Linked DNA regions of Homo sapiens: region 2 is linked to region 1. The links are contacts of gene promoters, found by promoter capture Hi-C in human tissues and cell types (Jung and others, 2019). All regions are on one chromosome and are shown on one strand. The core of a region is centred on a gene start or on the middle of the fragment in contact, and the rest is flanking DNA. Distances in the headings are between cores, read along the strand shown. Region 1 holds the start of LCLAT1 (lysocardiolipin acyltransferase 1). Region 2 has its middle 13 kb from the start of LINC01936.

Evidence for each region. The method cuts DNA at HindIII sites, captures the fragments that hold promoters and counts their contacts. A contact is called where the count stands out against the background at its distance.
Region 2: a contact is called between a fragment that was not itself captured here and the fragment with the promoter of LCLAT1 in region 1, in 2 of the 25 tissues and cell types used here (aorta and pancreas).

The regions. Positions count from the first base shown.
Region 1 is chr2:30,444,884-30,449,164 of GRCh38, forward strand. LCLAT1 (lysocardiolipin acyltransferase 1) reads left to right here and starts at 2,363. Exons shown (of 6, transcript NM_001002257.3): 1 at 2,363-2,500. RefSeq lists enhancers at 2,053-2,790, 2,094-2,163, 2,204-2,263, 2,474-2,593, 2,791-3,527. The HindIII fragment of the contact is 9,254 bases long and covers 1-4,281 here.
Region 2 is chr2:30,358,004-30,362,284 of GRCh38, forward strand. No RefSeq gene overlaps it. Among named protein-coding and RNA genes, the nearest start is that of LINC01936, 13 kb to the left of the region's middle. The HindIII fragment of the contact is 3,397 bases long and covers 489-3,885 here.

The DNA.
Region 1 (4,281 bases), core at 1,113-3,612:
AAAGATTGAGAAACTTGTCCCTTTGGGACAGTAGAGCACAGATTAACACCACTTTTTAAGTGTTATATACTACAATGTAATAATAATAGAAATAAAGTGCACAATAAATGTAATGTGGTTGAATCATCCCGAAATCACCCCCTTCACCCTTCACCCCGTTCATGGAAAAACTGTCTTCCACGAAAGCAGTCCCTGGTGCCAAAAAGGTCGGGGACTACTTCTCTGGATGTCTTGATGAAATACATACATTTCAGACGCGGATAAACCCCACAAAAATTCAGGAGCTTGCTACATTGGTGATATTTTAAAATAATTATTTAAAAAACTGGGGGGGTAGTTTTAGACTTAGGAGAGATGTAAAGAGAGTACAGGGATTTTTCCATATATTCTTTACCTAGCTTCCCCTTATGTCAACATCTTGTGTAAGCATAGAACATGTATCAAAACAAAGAATGATCCTGGTACAATAGCATTATGTAAACTATACATCATTTTGGATGCTGAAGTGGTCCAATGATCTTGGGCACGTCAAGACATTTTCCCCAGAATGAAAAACATGTTACTACACCTTGCACCTCTGCCAAAAAGAAAGAAGCATGACACTTAGCAGATCTCTGAGTTTAGAAATCAGCATATTTTGCCCTTGGGAATTCTGTTCCTATCCCTTTAGCAGTTGACGTGGAAGGTGGCTACTGATCAGTAGCTCAGATCAAGAACGGGCTCAGGGCCAGGCGCGGTGGCTCAAGCCTCTAATCCCAGCACTTTGAGAGGCCAAGGTGGGTGGATAGCTTGAGCTCAGGAGTTCGAGACCAGCCTGGCAACATGTTGAAATCCTGTCTCTACAAAAAACACAAAATTAGCTGGGCATGGTGGCAGATGCCTGTAGTTCCAGTTAGTCTGGAGGCTGAGGTGGGAGGATTGCTTGAGTCCAGGAGGCAGGGGTTGTAGTGGGCCACAATCATGCCACTGCACTCCAGCCTAGGTGACAGAGCGAGACCCTGTCTCAAAAAAAAAAAAAAAAAAAAAAAAAGCAAAGAAAAGAAAAAAGAAAGAGCCCAGCACTGTCCTCTGTGGTTAGGGCGGTAAGGGCAACCTTGCCTCTTGGGCTGTATCACCGGACACACCTCACAATGCTAGAGCTCTCTGCAATGGAGCTGCAAAGGCTATGAGGAACCTCCGGCAAGCCCCCAAAGAACCACAGTAGAGCCCTTGAAGGTTCTGGAGCATAGCCAGGCCAACTCTTAACAACAACAAAAAAGAATTGGGAGATCTTTTATTCCAGTAATCTTATTTTAAAGGTAAAAAGGAGGCCTAAAGTCATAGGCATAATTGGCAGAATTGACTTTTGTTCTGGTGTTTCTCTCTGTAGTCATTCTTCACTTTCTGATGCAATTTTAGCACATCTTAAATATTAAAATGTTTTGGAACAAACTTAGAGAAATTATGAAGCTAATTTAGGAAAAGAGCACAAGAATCTTTGATTTACAGGCAATTTGGGGATATAATTTAGCTATATTGAAGCTATGCAGCCAACATGTAGATGGTCATTATTATTACACCATAAATTTTGTGAGGTCAGGAACCTTGTAATTTTAAAAATATTCACTCTGTGCTTTGTTGAATAAACGGATAAAACGTATAGACATACATGAACTACTGATGAGTGGCTGTGTGTGATGTGTAGCTATGTTTATTATTTTTAAGATTCTTATTGTATTTGTTGAAGGCCAAGTTGAGGAGGGAATTGCTTAAGGGAAATGAAAAGGGGTTTAACCACAGTCCCCACCATTCAGGGGCATGCAATCTAGTAGGTTAGGGGACAGGACAGACACACCATGATAGGTGATCGAGACCTTTTAAGAGCAGTGTGATGAAATTGCTATGGGAACTGGGAGGAAACATTTTCTAGGACTGGGGAAACACTGAGTGTGCTAGAAAAACTTTGTGCTCCTGATCAGGGAACCTGGGTTCTATAACTGCTTCTACTACTGATTTGTCCTGTGACTTCGCGCACCAAATTTAGGCTTGTAAATTAAACTCCCAGATTTCTGTTTTCCATTTTGCAGCTCTAGGGGTTGAATGAACCATTAGGTTCCCTCGGACAAATGACCTCCGCTAATTTCCTATTTCGTTGTTTTCTCACCCCTACACCCCACCGTTCCGTGGGTCCCTCCTCTCCAGGAGGCCAGACGAGGAAATAAGCGAGGCCTCTTTAAAGGAGCTCTCAAAGAAAGGTACCCGGGGTATCCCGGGCTGTGGAGCAAGCGCGGGGCGCCGGGGACCCGGGTTTCCCACGCAGCCGGGGACGCCGTTGCGTCACGGCGCCTGCAGCCAATCAGGACGTAGCCTTCCGGGACGCATTACTAGGGCGACGGCCGGACGCCTCCGCGTTACGGGATGAATTAACGGCGGGTTCCGCACGGAGGTTGTGACCCCTACGGAGCCCCAGCTTGCCCACGCACCCCACTCGGCGTCGCGCGGCGTGCCCTGCTTGTCACAGGTGGGAGGCTGGAACTATCAGGTGGGGTTACGGCGCGAGGAAAATGGCGGCGGCCGGGGGATCTCAGAGGTGCAGGAAGGGGAGCTGCAGCCCGGGCTTTTCCTCCTGAGCCATGGACCTTCCCCGGGCCGCGACCTCGGGTAACGGCCACTGGCCTGGCATTTGGGGTCCCGGTGCAGGTGGCGGTAGCGTCGCTGGCTCAGGTGGAAGGAGGCGCGGGGAAGCGACTCCTGGAGGCTGGCTGAGGCGTCAGGTGCTGAGGGGCCGCGCGAGCGGCGAGGGCGAGGTAGCCGCGGGGCGAAGAGGGTCCCGTCGGTGTTTACGCTAGGAGCGTCAAAACCTTCCTCCTGCGACCTCAGCGGGTCTGGGAGCTGCACTGTCCCGGAACGCAACCTGAGGTCTGACCCTGTTAAATCCCATGCACTAAAACGTCTCAAGTGGTCACCACGTGCGGGGCTTCGACGAGAGCCGTGGAGAGCAGGGGCTGGGGTTGTCTTCCCTGCGAGTCCTGCAGGCGCCAAAGGCCTGCCTGTAGGTGCCAGAGTGGCAGTGCCGCGAAAAGAAAGGTAGGCCCTAGCCAGGGCGGATGCCAAACCTGATCTTTAAGGTGTATCGTAGCTTCTAATTGCCCATTTGAAGAAAAGAAGTTGAAAGATAAGGCACTTAGATGTGGTTGTGGAGATGTTTTGCTTTCTTGTACTTCCCTGGTTCAGGTGGCTTCCCTGGAAATACTGCATCTGCCTTTAAAGTTCATTAACTGTGTTTCTTGTGTACATGGCAGTAGATGAGATTAGGGATTGAAGTCACTTTAAGTCCAAGAAAAGTATTGAAGATATGTGTTGAAGGCATTACCAAGATGAAATATTTATTCATATCATTAACTTATTTGTTCAAAGAAACGTCATCTCATGAAGTATAACTACGTGGGTTAGTTTTCAAAAAACTGACTTGATGAAAGCCCTTTTTGTAAAACATATTTTTTGAGAGTAAGTAAAAATACATCATCACTTTTTCGTTTAGGTTTCTGTTGCACATTGTACTTTGATATGCTTGATATGACAGATAAGCATAATGTTAACTGACTTTTGTTTTTGGTAGTAGGCTTGATTTTATGGAGTAGTACCTTGTTCTGTAACTGAGAAAAACGTAATAGCGCTTGTGTTTCAGTCATCAATAGCTGCAATCTCTGGAGTGCCAACTATGTGTCAGTTTCTGTGAAAGCTAGGCTTCTCCTACTTTTTAATTTGAACACATGGTCGTCTGCATCTGCCCCCACCAGGTCTTTAGGCTGGCTGTTGCTGACAACCAGGAGGAAGCAATGGGGAAAACCCAAAAGATTCTTCCAAACTGGATCCATGGAGATTTGGTCAGTTTGTCCTGGGGTTGAGGTTATGGGTGGATTCTAGTCCAAACTCTGCCACTTAAAAATATCTTAGGGTAATCATACAACTTCACTATTGGTGTCTTATCTCTAAAGTGAGTATTTCTTATTCAAACAATCTCATTGCACTGTTGGGAGGAAAAAGAAAAGACAGTATGTGTGAAAGGGCTTTAAAAAGTTAAAAAAACAGTGAAAATATTTGAAATTTATTCCTCTGCATTCATGTACTCTGCCAGGCACTGAATCCGGGGACTTATATGTGCCAACTCAGTCATCTAGCATCACTGTGAGGCGGATACATTTATTATCTTTATTTTGCAGATGAGGAAACTGAAGCACATTGAAGTTTAAGTAATTTGTCCATATCACACAATTAGCATTGTGTTTCCAGCCTGTGTTC
Region 2 (4,281 bases), core at 937-3,436, 87 kb before region 1:
GTGGCACAATCTTGGCTCACTGCAACCTCTACCTCCCGGGTTCACACCATTCTCCTGCCTCAGCCTCCCGAGTAGCTGGGACTACAGGCACCTGCCACCACGCCCGGCTAATTTTTTGTATTTTTAGTAGAGACGGGGTTTCACCATGTTAGCCAGGATGGTCTCGATCTCCTGACCTCATGATCCGCCTGCCTCAGCCTCCCAAAGTGCTGGGATTACAGGCATGAGCCACCGCGCCTGGCCCTAAAAGTAATGCATTTTTAAATGCTGGTATAAATATTTGCAGAATGCCAGTTGCCTATGCTTTTCAATGGACTTTCAAGGAAAATCTGTCATTTGGAGAAAGATTTTCAAATCATTGCAACCTCGGCACGATTCAGTGCCCTCTTCCTTATCTTTTCTGTTTTCAGAGCAGCTTCCTTAGCACTGGGGCTACCCTTCACTTTCCCAACTGGAAGGGTTTTTGACCTGATCAGCTCCTCTGTCCCTGCTATTGCCTGGGCACCTAAAGCACCTCCTGCCTTTCTCTCCACCTCCCCACCCCCCACGCCCAGGTGCTCTGGCAGGCATGTCACATCAGAGGCTCACATGTTTCTCCACCTTTCCCCAGTACAGAGAAGACATCTGCCTCCAGTTCGTAGGATGAATTACTCCCTTAATTAATTACTCCCTTAATCGATGATAACTTCCAGTGCAGGAGAGGGTGGAGGCTCTAAAACATGATTGTGCTAGAGAAACCTCATTGTTTTGTACCAGAAAGTGGTCACAACCCTGGCTGCCTCATATGTGATGTTGTGGAGACAGTAACAAGGAACACTTCAAAAAGAGAAACTTTCTGAAAATAAACCAAAAGTGGCCTATGTGCACAGGTACAAGTCCATGAGGCAGCCTCTCAGCTCTTTCATATTGTTTGTCCCAACACCGCTACTTTGCCCAGCCTGACGCACATAGGCATGGAGATGCTGAGCGTCAACACGGTGGAGTCATATCACGTGATCACAGATCCCAGCTTAGGTGCAGTCATTCGAGCCACTGAGCCTGCTGTTCTGTTTAGTGAACATATGCCCCAGGAGCCAGAAGCCAGCCATCTGCCTGAGTCAGCCCTGGCCCCAATATGTGTGAATATGAGTCTAGTGCTTAGTGATACACACTTCCACACAACATGGTCCCTAAATGTAAGACAATCACTCCATTGCATGTGCACCCAAAATCACAGCATCTGTTCCCAAGCTGATGGAAACGCCAATTTGTCAGAGTCTTCAACATGGTACCTTCTGAAGGAAGAGTCAAGGGTGAGTCTGATCATACGTGATCTTTCCTTGTTTGCTGAATTTAGAGAGTAACTCTGCTTAAAATGTTACTCCCTATATGTGTAGGTTGCAGACACCCCTGGATTCTTTGGGGGCAGTTCCCCAGGTCCTGCTACATTTGCTGTTGACATTCCCTTATTTTCTTTCCATCCAGCTCCAGACCCTTGTCCCCAGGTTTTGACCCCACCCAGACCTTTGCCTGGGACGGAAAGCTGCTTCATTTCAGGAGACACCTGAAGTACCTGGGTTGGTTCAGAGACTACCAGAAGTTTTTGGACTTCTTCTAGTCCTTTAATGGCCAAAAGGACTCAAGGGCCTGGCATGTAATGGAAAAGGCATCACCTCTCTCATGGAACGCAGCTGGAAGGACCAACCCCTTCATAGTTACAGGAATCTGAGCTATGAAGACACTAGCCAGGCAACAAGGCCCTGGGCTCAGACACAGATGAAGTTTCTCTGGAAGAGAAATCTGGCCTGTTACAGACCTGGGAAGTGCCAAGGCTTAGCTCCTGAGAAGGATTGCTGGTGCTGACAGCTGGGAGTCAGGACTCCAGGGCCACTTGTATGGAAGCTGGTGCCCGTGGTGCAGGAGGATGGGGGCTCTGGATTCTGCACCACCCCCCATAGACTGGCCCCTCAGAGGGCTCCTGTGGTGTCAGAGCCCTCTCACAAGCGCCTGCCGTGGTTATCAGCTGAAGCTGAGTGCTTGTGGAGTGTGGACAGAGGGCAGAGGGAGAGAAGCAGCCATGGGCTTCCTGCCAGGAAGCTCAGCAGCTCCGAGGAGACTGGAGAGTCATGGGACACAGTGCGTCCTCCCCAGAACAGCCTCCAGCCTGCCAGTTCAGAGCACACGCTTGGAGGCAGGAAGGCTGAGGTCCAACCCCATTCCTGCTATGGGCCAGCTGAGAGCTGTGGACAAGTCATTCGGCTTCTCTGAGCCGCAGTCTTCTCACCTGTAAAGCGGGGGTAATAATACCCTCCTCACAAGGTTGTTGCAAGGCTTTGTGGGGAAAAATACAAAGTGCACAGAGTTGTTCAGTAAGGCGTGGGCCTGCGGGGAAAGGCGGGGCCATGAGCTGGCCAGGGGAGGAAAGGACAGATGGGGACTCCAGATAATGAAAGCATCTTTGCATCCTCAATGATATAATCTGGGTTTGTTGTTGTTGTTGTTGTTTGAGACAGAGTCTCGCTCTGTCCCCCAGGCTGGAGTGCAGTGGTGCAATTTCAGCTCACTGCAACCTGTACTTCCCGGGTTCAAGTGATTCTCCTGCCTCAGCTTCCTGAGTAGCTGGGATTACAGGTGCCCGCCACCATGCCTGGCTAATTTTTCTGTTTTTAATAGAGACAGGGTTTCGCCATGTTGGCCAGGATGGCCTCGAGCTCCTGACCTCAGCTGATCCACCCTCCTCAGCCTCCCAAAGTGCTGCGATTACAGGCATGAGCCACCGCGCCCGGCCCATCTGGAGTTTTTTTGTTTGTTTGTTCCTCATAAAGGCTACGAGGAGAGGAAGGGGCCTAGAACACAGGATGGTGGAAGAGGGGCTCATGGGTGGAGGGGAGGAGAGCAGATGAGCAGGGACCCTCCCCCTTCCTCGGCAACCATGGGGTTTGCCACACATATATTTTTGATGTCCCATGTATCAGGTGGAGATGTCAACTTCTATGAACTGAAATAAACTGTTTCCCTATGTGTAAAATGAAGGGCACTTCAAGTCTGTCCAAGTACAACCAGGTGTCTCTAGATACCCCGAGCCTGAGAAATCACCCGTGTAGATGCACACAGGCATACACTCACACATATGCACAATCACATACACTCACATTTTGTTACCTGGGTTCAAATTAGACTAGCTGATAGTTGAGGATAGCCATGGGTTCCAAGCTTAGGCACATCTTTGCTGTGGCTGTTAGGCCTCACCCAGGTTGAGAGAAGGACTAAGACCCAGGTCTACTTGCTTGTCTGGTCTCTCTATATTATCCTAGTAGCAAGTTAGAGAATTGCGCCAGGGAGAATGCAGCAGAAAAGAGGAGGATATGGAATCATCCTAGGGCAAGCCAGGAGGCAGGGGTACAAGGGCCTTAGCTTTCCTGTACCCCCAGATACAGCCCAGAGTGAATAAAAAGCTGAACTCAGCCCAGGAAGGTCCTGGAAGACCTGCCAGTGCCTGAGTCACACAGTGATGCCTGGGCTGAAACCAGGGGGAGTCAGGGAGTAACATTTACAGGGTCTTCTCCCCATGGCTCTCTCAACCCAGGACCAAGCATGGTGGCTTCCTGAGAGTAGCAACACTGAATCATTGAGTTATTTATTCATTCACCCCACAACCACTTCTGATACAGACCTACACCCTGCTTTGGGGGAGCTCAAAGCTTATTTCCTGCTCCACACCCCCCACCCCCAATGCTTCCTGCGCCACTGACTTCCCAACAGGATAAAGGAAGCCTTCTCCTGGAATCTGAGTGTAATGTGGGCTGGATTCAGGTTAGCCAAATCCAGGGGAAGGCAGGGTTTGAAGCCTCTGGGTTTGGCATGTCCTGGCAAGCAGCGGAGTAAAGAAGATTCTCCTTTACCCTGTGCCCCGGTGCCTCATCTCCACTCTGTGCCTTCTCAAGCTGGTGGCAGGCTGAACCAAATGCCCCCACGTTGGTAAGTGTCACCCACACCCCCTAGCCACCATACCACAGGTCAGCTCCTGACAAACGTGCAGGTGTTAACCAACAGACACGCCACGAGGACACAGAGGGAGGCGACAGATTCTGGCCTGGGGATTCGAGGAAAGCTTCACAAAGGAGGAAGAGATGAACCAGGCCTGAGAGCTGGTTAGAATGTTGACAGAAGACTGAGGGAACATTGTCAGCAAAAGCTCAGAAGCAAGAACAAATGAAGGGGGAAGACAGGTCGCTATGTACCTCAAGTGACTCACCAACTCGGAACAAAACACTTCCCTTTACACGGTTGAAGGGACATGAG